Linked DNA regions of Homo sapiens: all the other regions are linked to region 2. The links are contacts of gene promoters, found by promoter capture Hi-C in blood cells and fetal thymus (Javierre and others, 2016). All regions are on one chromosome and are shown on one strand. Each heading gives the region's core, a stretch centred on a gene start or on the middle of the fragment in contact. The rest is flanking DNA. Distances are from core to core; before and after follow the strand shown.

Evidence for each region. The method cuts DNA at HindIII sites, captures the fragments that hold promoters and counts their contacts. A CHiCAGO score of 5 or more calls a contact.
Region 1: a contact is called between a fragment that was not itself captured here and the fragment with the promoter of PTPN12 in region 2, in 1 of 17 cell types (M0 macrophages). The highest score is 5.1, in M0 macrophages.
Region 3: a fragment that was not itself captured here is called in contact with the fragment with the promoter of PTPN12 in region 2 in 1 of 17 cell types (neutrophils); the score reaches 6.0 in neutrophils.

The regions. Positions count from the first base shown.
Region 1 is chr7:76,323,624-76,327,138 of GRCh38, reverse strand. YWHAG (tyrosine 3-monooxygenase/tryptophan 5-monooxygenase activation protein gamma) reads left to right here. Exons shown (of 2, transcript NM_012479.4): 2 at 1-340. Among named protein-coding and RNA genes, the nearest start is that of FPASL, 7.1 kb to the right of the region's middle. The HindIII fragment of the contact is 707 bases long and covers 1,603-2,309 here.
Region 2 is chr7:77,535,715-77,538,892 of GRCh38, reverse strand. PTPN12 (protein tyrosine phosphatase non-receptor type 12) reads right to left here and starts at 1,598. Exons shown (of 18, transcript NM_002835.4): 1 at 1,248-1,598. The coding sequence starts at 1,346. It overlaps LOC124901681 (a long non-coding RNA gene), which reads left to right and starts at 1,944. Exons shown (of 3, transcript XR_007060395.1): 1 at 1,944-2,522; 2 at 2,612-3,178. RefSeq lists silencers at 1,059-1,108, 1,249-1,458, 1,709-2,008 and enhancers at 2,079-2,298, 2,469-2,518. The HindIII fragment of the contact is 6,799 bases long and covers 1-3,178 here.
Region 3 is chr7:76,365,154-76,368,659 of GRCh38, reverse strand. No RefSeq gene overlaps it. Among named protein-coding and RNA genes, the nearest start is that of YWHAG, 7.9 kb to the right of the region's middle. RefSeq lists an enhancer at 3,491-3,506. The HindIII fragment of the contact is 7,431 bases long and covers 1-3,506 here.

The sequences.
Region 1 (3,515 bases), core at 707-3,206, 1.2 Mb after region 2:
GACATGCAGTTATATATTTTGTTTTTAAAAGGGGGGGAGCAAAAGAAACACCAGTGTTAGCTTAATCTTAATGTCTGGTGTTTGTCATGGTGAAATTATAACTATTACAGTGTTGGAGAACAACAAATATGTTCTCTGAATGAGCCTTTGTGCTTTTTGTCATGTTATGCAGTGAACTATTTTTAAGGTCTAATCAGTGATTATTTTTCCAGCTCCGTGTTTCTCTAAGGAATTATTTCACACACGGACCATCTTTAGCAGTTTCCTCAGTGATGGAATATCATGAATGTGAGTCATTATGTAGCTGTCGTACATTGAGCAAATAAACTTACAGATCTGACGCCAGTGCTCCTTAGCTTCATTGTGTGAGTTTTACTGTCCTTTGCTTTTGAAGGTTGGATCAGATGTTGGTGTTCTCTTCCCTCCCCAGCCCAAGCAATGAAGTTGGATTGGCAGGAAAAAGGGGAAAGACAGTAGATACTGGAAAGCGCCTCCAACCAGGAATCAGATTTGGGTTTGGGGACTTAAAAAAACCATTGCACCAGGCCAGGCGCAGTGGTTCATGCCTGTAATCTCAGCACTTTGGGAGGCTGAGGCGGGCGGATTACCTGAGGTCAGGAGTTCAAGGCCAGCTTGGCCAACATGGTGAAACCCCATCTCTACTAAAAATACAAAAATTAGCAGGGCATGGTGCTGGGTGTCTGTAGGACCAGCTACTCGGGAGGCTGAGGCAGGAGAATCACTTGAGCCCAAGAGGTGGAGGTTGCAGTGAGCCAAGATTGCACCACTGCCTTCCAGCCTGGGCAACAGAGTGAGACTCCGTCTCCAAAAAAAAAAAAAAATTGCACCTTTTAGGGTGGGCGCAGTGGCTCACACCTGTAATCCCAGCACTTTGGGAGGCTGAGGCCGGAAGATCACTTGAGGCCAGGAGTTTGAGACCAGCCTGGGCAACATATTGAGACCCTATCTCTGTTGAAAAAACAAAACCAAACCATTGCACCTTTTGGGCCTCCATTTTTCTCATATTAAACGAGCCTGTTCAACTGGATCTCTGAGGGCCTTTCCGGGGTACCACTGGGGAGAAACACAGACCTGAGTTTGAGTGATGGCACGCCCCATCCTGCCCGTTTTAAACAACAAAACAAAACAAAAAACAGATGGGGTCTGGCCATGTTGCCTAGGCTGGGCTCGAACTCCTGGGCTCAAGTGATCCTCCCAGAATTATGGCCCCTTTTGATTCCTGGGCAAATTATTCAAACTTCTTAGCCTGGGTGGGTGTGGGTGTGGTTGTAGGTTTAAATGATAACTGGATCATAGCTTTTAATTATTTTTTTGTGACAGGCTGGAGTGCAGTGGCACGATCTCAGCTCACTGTAACCTCCACCTCCCAGGTTCCAAGCTATTCTCATGTCTCAGTCTTCTGAGTAGCTGGGATTACAGGATCCCACCACCATGCCCAGCTAATTTTTATATTTTTAATAGAGACCGGGTTTCGCCGTGTTGGCCAGGCTGGTCTCAAACTCCTGACCTCAAGTGATCCGCCTGCCTCGGCCTCCCAAAGTGCTGGGATTACAGGTGTGAGCCACCGCGCCCGGCCAAGCTTCTTAATTTTCTGAGAAACATTAATTCACATTTCAGGAATGATAACACACTGTGAATAGGCTTTTGGCATATACTCAGTGAATTCACTTACGTTGACTCATTTGTCACCCAGAACTACCCTGGGTGCCACTGCAAGTGTATGGCTGTAGAATTAGGAGTGACTGCTATACCTAAGGTGCTGTAACTCACTGATAACCCGCATCTGCCTGCCTGAGTTTGGTCTGCCCACACCAGGCTGCTTTTGCACTGCTAGGAGACCATAAGAAACTAGGCCGAGCGGCAGCAACCAACTCTTCAGCACACATTGACCAAGCACTTTTATTTTATTTATTTTGAGACGGAGTTTTGCTCTTGTTGCCCAGGGTGGAGTGCGGTGGCGCCATCTTGGCTCACCCCAACCTCCGCCTCCCGGGTTCAAGCGATTTCCTGCCTTAGCCACCCGAGTAGCTGGGATTACAGGCACGCGCCATCACTCCCAGCTAATTTTGTATTTTTAGTAGAGACGGGGTTTCTCCATGTTGGCCAGGTTGGTCTCGAACTCCTGACCTCAGGTGATCCGCCCACCTTGGCCTCCCAAAGTGCCGGGATTACAGGCCAAGCCACCGCACTTAACTGACCAAGCACTTTTAGTATTGCAGTTACTGAGGGCAAAAAAAAAAAAAAAACACTTTTGGCACAGATATGAACAAGATCAGAACAGTCAAGCTTGCTCTAACAGGGTCACTGAAGAAGGAAGGTAGATCCCCTGAAAGTTGCCGCTATTTCACCCTTGTTCCTTTGGCGTAATGTCCCGTTACAGGTGCAAGAGTAGCTTTGTTTTACTGTTTTGCAGATCTCTTGGGAGCTAAGTCACACGTACTCTCTGCTTAGGCGTCCAGTCTGTTGTGATATGTGTTTTCTTAAGACAGGGTCTCGCTCTGTCTCACAGGCTAGAGTGCAGCAGTGCGATCATAGCTCACTGCAGCCTCAAACTCCTGGGCTCACGTGTTCCCGCCTCAGCCTCCCAGGTAGCTGGGAGTGCTACCATACCGGGCCATTTTACTTAATTATTTTTGAGATGGAGTCTCGCTCTGTTGCCCAGGCTGGAGTGCAGTGGCTTGATCTCGGCTCACTGCAACCTCCACCTCCCAGGTGCAAGTGATTCTCCTGTCTCAGCCTCCTGAATAGCTGGGATTACAGGTGCATGCCACCATGCCTGGCTAATTTTTTTGTATTTTAGTAGAGACGGGGTTTCTCCGTGTTGCCCAGGCTGGTCTTGAACTCCAGAACTCAGGCAATCCACCTGCCTCGGCCTCCCAAAGTGCTGGGATTACAGGCGTGAGCCACTGCGTCCAGCTGGGCCATTTTATTTTTTAGAGACAGGGTCTTACTATGTTGTCCAGGCTGATCTCAAACTCCTGGCCTCAAGTGATCTGCCTCAGCCTCCCAGAGCACTAGGAGTACAGATATGAGCCACTGCACCTGGCCTATTGTGATATGTTGTTTCACTTGAAGTATTTGAAAAAAATACAGTATCACACAAATAAGTAGTTGGAAAGGGGTGAACCTAAAGAATTGAAGTTGAATGGCAGAAGCAGAATAAGGTTAAGAAAGTTCTCATTAGGTGGGTGCGGTGGCTCACGCCTGTCAACTTTGGGAGGCTGAGCTGGGTGGATTGCTTGAGCCCAGGAGTTCAAGACCAGCCTAGGCAACATAGTACATAGTGAGACCTCTGTCTCTACAAAAATTAAGTGGGCATGGTGGTGTGCACCTGTAGTTTCAGCTACTCAGGAGGCTGAGGTGGAAGGATTGCTTGAGCCCAAGAGGTTGAGGCTGTAGTGAGCTATGATCACGCCACTGAATTCCAGCCTGGGAGACAGAGCAAGACCTTGTCTCAAATACAATAAACAAAAAAGACCTCATACTACATGAAT
Region 2 (3,178 bases), core at 349-2,848:
CAACCACTTCCCAAAGTCCCACTTCCTTTTTCATTCCCCAGACCTACAGGGTTTCCAACGCCCCAGTCTTGCGCAATATCCGTAGGAGCAGCAGCCGCAACCACCGCCTCCTAAGCCGGGAAACAACCCTAGAGGGAACATTGTCCAGCAGAAAAATAAAAAGGGCGGGGGTTGGGGGGGTGGGTAACGTAGGAAGTCGACTTCTGGTCTCACGCCTTCGGATCTGACCCCCTCACAGTGTGCTAAAGCAATAGTGTATCTAGAGCAATTTCATGAACAAGACTTTTAACCTTCACCTCCTCTCAAGACTGCCTGCACAAGCAGAGGGCGGAAAGTAGGGGGTGGCGGAGGCGGGGGGGCGCTGGGAAGGTTATCTCCCAGTTCAGGGCTTCGGCCCGTAGCGTCGCCTCCGCCCCACCAGGACTATTGTTCCCAAGTTCCCCACCCCCACCCCGGATAGGAAGTGATAGTCACATCCCCTCCGCCTTCGGCAATATCCCCTGGGGAGTCCGAAGTCGGCTGGCTTCCTTCAGGATAATTCCCCCACCCACACTTATCCCCTGAACCTATAGTCACACGGACCCCAAGACCACCTCAAACCTGGGCCTCAGGAGAGGAGAAGCGGGACGCGGGTAAATGGAAATTAGGTAAACCCATGAGATTCCTTATGGGCAATCCTTTCCCAAGCGTTGGAGATCATGACTGCGACCCCAGAAACGGCCTAAGTCCTACCCTGCCCGCTTTGAGACCAGCTAGAGCAAAGGGATCCCAGGAGTTAGTGCCAACCTCAATACCCCCGTTCCTCTGTCAGCCACGATCTGCACTCCTCCCGGTCACAGCCAGATACCTTGCCTCGACCCTCCTGGGAGGAGCGAACTGCGCGGGGAGGTGTGGAAACGCGAGCCCCCCCCCCCGGCCTGCACCTCACTTGCCTACGGCTCCCGGCCCGGTAAACAATAGGTGGTCGCGAGCCACGGTGCAGGCTGCGGGCTCGGCCGCGCGGCCGCTCCCTTCGCGTCCCGGGAACCCGCGCGGGGGTCGCGAACATGGGAGAAGAAAGGAGGCCACGGGGGGAGGCGCTCTCGCCTCCCGCTGGCCTCCGAGACCACCCGGCTCACCCGGCTGGTGCGCGCCCCCTCCGCCCCTCTCCTCACAGAGGTACACAAAGCACTGGCGGCCCGGCCGGGAGAGGCGGCGATGGGCTCCGGCGCCGGCAAGAAAACGCGACAGCGAGGGGAGAGACTCACCATGAAGTCCCGGGCGAAGTTGTCCTCCCCATTGTGGTCAGGACTCTTCATGGCCTGGACCCTCTGGATGAATTTCCTCAGGATCTCCACTTGCTCCATCCTCCCGCGTCCCCCCGGCTGCGGTCGCTGGCCCCCCCGCCGCCCGCCCGCCCGGCACAGAGCCCGCTCCGTCTTCCCCAGCTCGTTCCCCCAGCACGTCCCTCCCTCCCGACCCCGCCAAGCCCCGCGGCTCCCTCCTCCTCCCCACCGCCCTAGGCGGCGGCTGCGGCGGCACCGGCTGGGCTCCCGACACCACAACTTCCAGGAGCAGCCGCCGCTCTCCCACAGTACCAGGCGAGCCGCTGCGCTAGCGCCAACCCCAACCCCCAGCTTGCTCCATCCTCCTTCCCCGCCCTCCTCCTCCGTCGGAGACGCCGCCGCCGCCGCCGCCGCCGCCGCCGCCTCAGGAACACAGCTAGCTCTCCGCTCGCCCTGCCCCCCCTTCCCGGTTCCTCCTCCCCCCCACCCCCCGCCAGCAGCCGCAGCCGCAGCCGCAGCCGCCTCTCCCCACGGGCGCGTCCCCGCCGCCACCCAGATGCGCGGCCTCGCGCTGCGGCTCCGCCCCAAGCGCTGCGCCCGCAGATGCATCCCCGCCCGCCTCCCGGCCACGCCCCCAAGCCCGCCCCGCCGGCCCCAGCCCCGCTTGGAGTGGCTGGAAGGCACTTCAGCGGGCGGCCTGGAGACCTGACTCCATTTCCGGGGCGTGGCCCCGCCCGGGGTGCTCAGAGGTCGGAGTATCGCTGGGAGGAGAGTTGGTTCATTTGGAGGAGGGAATGCGACTCTGAGCGGGCCAAGCCCTAGTGGGTCAGAGTAGGATTCTGATGGAATTTGCGGTCTCACCGCCTACTAGGGAGGAAAAGCAGTTTTCAGGAGTCCCGCACCGCCGCCAGCCGTGGGCTGGGACTACAAGTCACGGTCTGTGGAGTCCAGGAGTGGGGGCGGGCGGGAGGCAGGCTGGGAGCTGTAGTAGTGTCACCGCCACGTTCGCAGCAGGTAGATGCTCATCTTGCTAACGGATTGGTGAGAGTGGACAGCAATTAGGCTTTGGCACCTTGGAGCGTGGCTCCAGCTAAGGGAAGCGAAACGCTTCCTGGGTGAGAGGACTTTTATTCTTTGCTCATCCTCTTAAACCTGGCGAGTGAGCGCCTGAGGTTCGGAGTGCCTTCTTCACAGACGACGCGAATGTGGGGTCTTCGTGTTTGCCGAACTGAAGGGAATTTGCCTTCCTGCCTTTAGGTTCGCAGCAGTTCATAACTGAATAAGAGACTTTCCTCCATAGAATGGACTTTATAAATCTATTAATTTTTTTTTTTTTTTTTTTTTAGAGCTAAGGTCTTGCTCTATCTCCCATGCCAAAGTGCAGTGCTATGATCACGGCTCGCTGCAGCCTTGAACTCCTGGGCTCAAGGCATCCTCCTGCCTCACTACGTCACCAAGCCCAGCTAATACATTTTAAAAATTTATTATTTATTTATTTATTTATTTTTGGTAGAGAAGGGGGTCTCACCAGGTTGCCCAGGCTGATCTCGAATTCCTGTGCACTAGGGATCCTCAGCTTCCGAAAGTGTTGGGATTTTAGGCGTGAGCCACCGCGCCTAGCCTATAAATCTTTATTCATCTTTGTAAACTTCTATCAGAGAATATATTCTGGTCTAACTCATCATTTTACAAATAAAGCGACTTCCTGACATCCCCCAGCGTATTCTTAGCAGAGCCGTAACTAGAAGTTATTTTACTTTCACAACAGTGGCCTCTCACAATGTGACAGAACTGAAGGATTTGATCCATGAACTGACTTTCGTCATTTATACCCACAAACCTTTTTTTACAGAGCAGATTGGTCAGCGAATTTGGTTATAATAGGAAATATCAGTGGTAGAATACTTTCTCAG
Region 3 (3,506 bases), core at 827-3,326, 1.2 Mb after region 2:
CTACTTTGGGAGGCCGAGGTGTGAGGATTGCTTGAGGCCAGGAGTTTGAGACCAGCCTAGGCAACACAGAGAGACATTGTCTCTGAAAAAGAAATCAAAATATTAGTTGGATGTGGTGGCGTGCACCTGTAGTCCCAGCTACTTGGGAGGCTGAGGTGGGAGGATCGCTTGAGCTTGGGAGGTTGAGGGCTGCAGTGAGCCATGATCACACCATTGCACTCCAGCCTGAGTGACAAAGGGAGACGCTGTTGCAATACACACACATATGCACACACACATACACATGCGTGCACACGCACACACACACACACACACCCACATACACACAAGAAAAACCACAGGCTGCCATCATCCCCACCACTATGGGTCCCCCACAAGTCATTTGTCCTCTGTTGGTATTCCAAGTACCAAAACACTCCAGATTCTTCTACGAAGTCGAAGAATACTGCTGTTCATTTCACAGTTCGATTCAAAGGGCATGGTACAGATTTCTCTTTAAGATTCAGTTGGGGAACCCAAGCTCTAGATGGGTAAAGTACTTGGCCTAAGTTCACACAGCTGGGTTTCGGGAGAAGACTGCAGCCCAGGCTCTTCTCCCTCTTGAACATACTTGTCTCTTTGAGACAGTGGCCCATTTTTTTCATGGTGACACACATTCCCTTGGTGGGATAATTTTATTTTATTGTTTAAAGGAGTCTTGCTCTGTCACCCAGGCTGGAGTACAGTGGCGTGATTTCAGCTCACTGCAACCTTTGCCTCCCAGGTTCCAGCAATTCTCCAACCTCAGCCTCCCCAAGTAGCTGGGATTACAGACGTGTACCACCACGTCTGGCTAATTTTTGTATTTTTAGTAGAGACAGGGTTTCATCATGTTGGCCAGAATGGTCTTGAATGCCTGACTTCAAGTTATCCACCCGCCTTGGCCTCCCAAAGTGCTGGGATTATAGGCATGAGGCACTGCACCTGGTCTCCTTTTAAAAAATTGTTTTTGTTTTGTTTTGTTTTGTTTTTTAAAAATTTTTTGAGATAGCGTCTCACTGTGTTGCCCAGGCTGGAGTGCAGTGGCGCCATCATAGCTCACTGCAGCCTCCAACTCCTGGGGTCATGTGATCCTCCCACCTCAGCCTCCCAAAGTGCTGGGGTTATGGGGTTGCAGGTGTGAGCCACAGTGCCTTCCCTGATTCCCTTCTTAAAGCAGAGAGTCTCCTTCATTGAACACAACTTCGCTGAGCACCTGCTCCATGCTAGGCTTGGAGATCAGAGATGGCTCAGACTGAGTCTATGTCTTTCAGGAATATGACCCCAGGGAAGACAGACTCATATACATCTGAGTGCTATATGGTGGTCTGGGCTCTTCTCTAGAGAACATGGCAGGAGAGCCCATGGGGACTGAGGAGAGAGTGGTTAGTTCAACTCAGTGTCTGAGTCTGAAGGATGAGGAGGTCTGGGTCTAATGGGGGTGGGCATAGAAGGAGCTTTCAGCACAAGGAACAGCTTTTGAAAAAGCCCAGACTGGGTCAGGCGCAGTGGTTCACACCTGTAATCCCAGAACTTTAGGAGGCCGAGGCGGGCAGATCACCTGAGGTCGGGAGTTCGAGACCAGCCTGACCAACATGGAGAAACCCCATCTCTAATAAAAATACAAAATTACCTGGGCGTGGTGGCACATGCCTGCAATCTCTTCTACTCAGGAGACTGAGGCAAGAGAATCGCTTGAACCTGGGAGGTGGAGGTTACGGTGAGCTGAGATTGTGCCATTGCACTCCAGCCTGGGCAACAAGAGCAAAACTCTGTCTCAAAAAAAAAGAAAGAAAAGAAAAAAAAAAAAGAAAAGAAAAAGCCCAGACTGCCCAGGTGTGGTGACTCATATGTATAATCCCAGCACTTTGGGAGGTAGAGGCAGGAGGATTGCTTGAGCCCAGGAATTTGGGACCAGCTTGGACAACTAAACATAGACCCTATCTCCACAAAAAAAAAAAAAAAAAATAGAAAATTTTTTTCTACTGGGCGTGGTGGTGTGAGCCTGTATTCCCAGCTGCTCTGAAGGCTAAGGCGGGAGGATCATCTGAACCTAGGAGGTCGAGGCTGCTAGTCCAGCCTGGGCGATAGAGCATGACCCTGTCTCAGAAGAAAAAAAAAAGATATTTTGGATTTTTCACTGGGGAGAATGGAAAGACACTGAGACAGGGCCATTAGCTGAAAAGCTGTTGCTATAAACTGGAAGATCTTAAGACGCATCCACCTGGTTCCTCTATTTTATAGATGCACAATCTGAGAACCAGAGAGGCAAAGTGATTTGCCCAAGGTCACTCAGGAAGATTAATGGCAAAGCCAGTGCTTCAACCTGTGGGTCCTGCCTCCTGGGCTCATGCCTCCTCCACTGGCCTGAGATCCTCAGAAGGAGAGGCAGGTTGCAGAGATTTCCTGTCATTCTTTGCCTCTGCTGCAGGACAGCCTGCTAAGGCAGTGACAGGGAAGTGTTCCCAGAGGACAGGGCGGGGAGCATTGCTGCTTGGCTTCAGAAGATGCTGCTGCTGCCTCTGCACTAATCAGGGAGCTTTCCAGCCACAGGAGGAAGCCAGAAGCCAGGGGATGGGGCTGCGGTGATTTATGACTGCACAGAAACAGCAGGACAATCATGTCCCTGGCTGTCCTGCATGTCTGCCAACCGAGCCGGACAGCATGCATTTAAAAGGTCATGTCCTCCAGTGCTGGAGAAGGGGCTGGAGGGTGCCCTTCGGTCAGGTTGGTCACTCCTTTCCTGAGCAGATGCCAAGGAGGGTAGATCCTGGACAGGAAACAATGCCTTTGCTGCTAAGAGTCTAGGAGGTCTGCCCGGGTTTGAATCCAGGCTCTGTTAGCTGAGACACGGAGAGGCTGTGTGATTTTTGGCTGATCACACAGCCTCTCTGTGTCTCTGCTTCCTTGTCTTAAAAAACAGGGGTGAAGCTGGGCGCGGTGGATCACACCTGTAATCCCAGCACTTTGGGAGGCCGAGGCAGGTGGATCACCTGAGGTCAGGAGTTCGAGATCAGCCCGGCCAACATGGTGAAACCCTGTCTCTACTAAAAATACAAAAATTAGCCGGGCGTGGTGGCACATGTCTGTAATCCCAGCTACTCAGGAGGCTGAGGCAGGAGATCACTTGAACTTGGGAGGCGGAGGTTGTAGTGAGCTGAGATCGCGCCACTGCACTCCAGCCTGGGCAACTGAGCAAGATTCTGTCTCAAAAAAAAAACCAAAAAACAAAAAAAAAACTGGCCGTGCACTGTGGCTCACGCCTGTAATCCCAGCTCTAACTCTTTGGGAGGCCGAGGCAGGCGGATCACCTGAGATCAGGAGTTCGAGACCAGCCTGACCAACATGGAGAAACCCCATCTCTACTAAAAATACAAAAATTAGCCGGGCATGGTGGCGCATGCCCATAATCCCAGCTACTCAGGAGGCTGAGGCAGGAGAATCGCTTGAACCTGGGAGGCAGAGATTGTGGTAAGCTGAGATCGTGC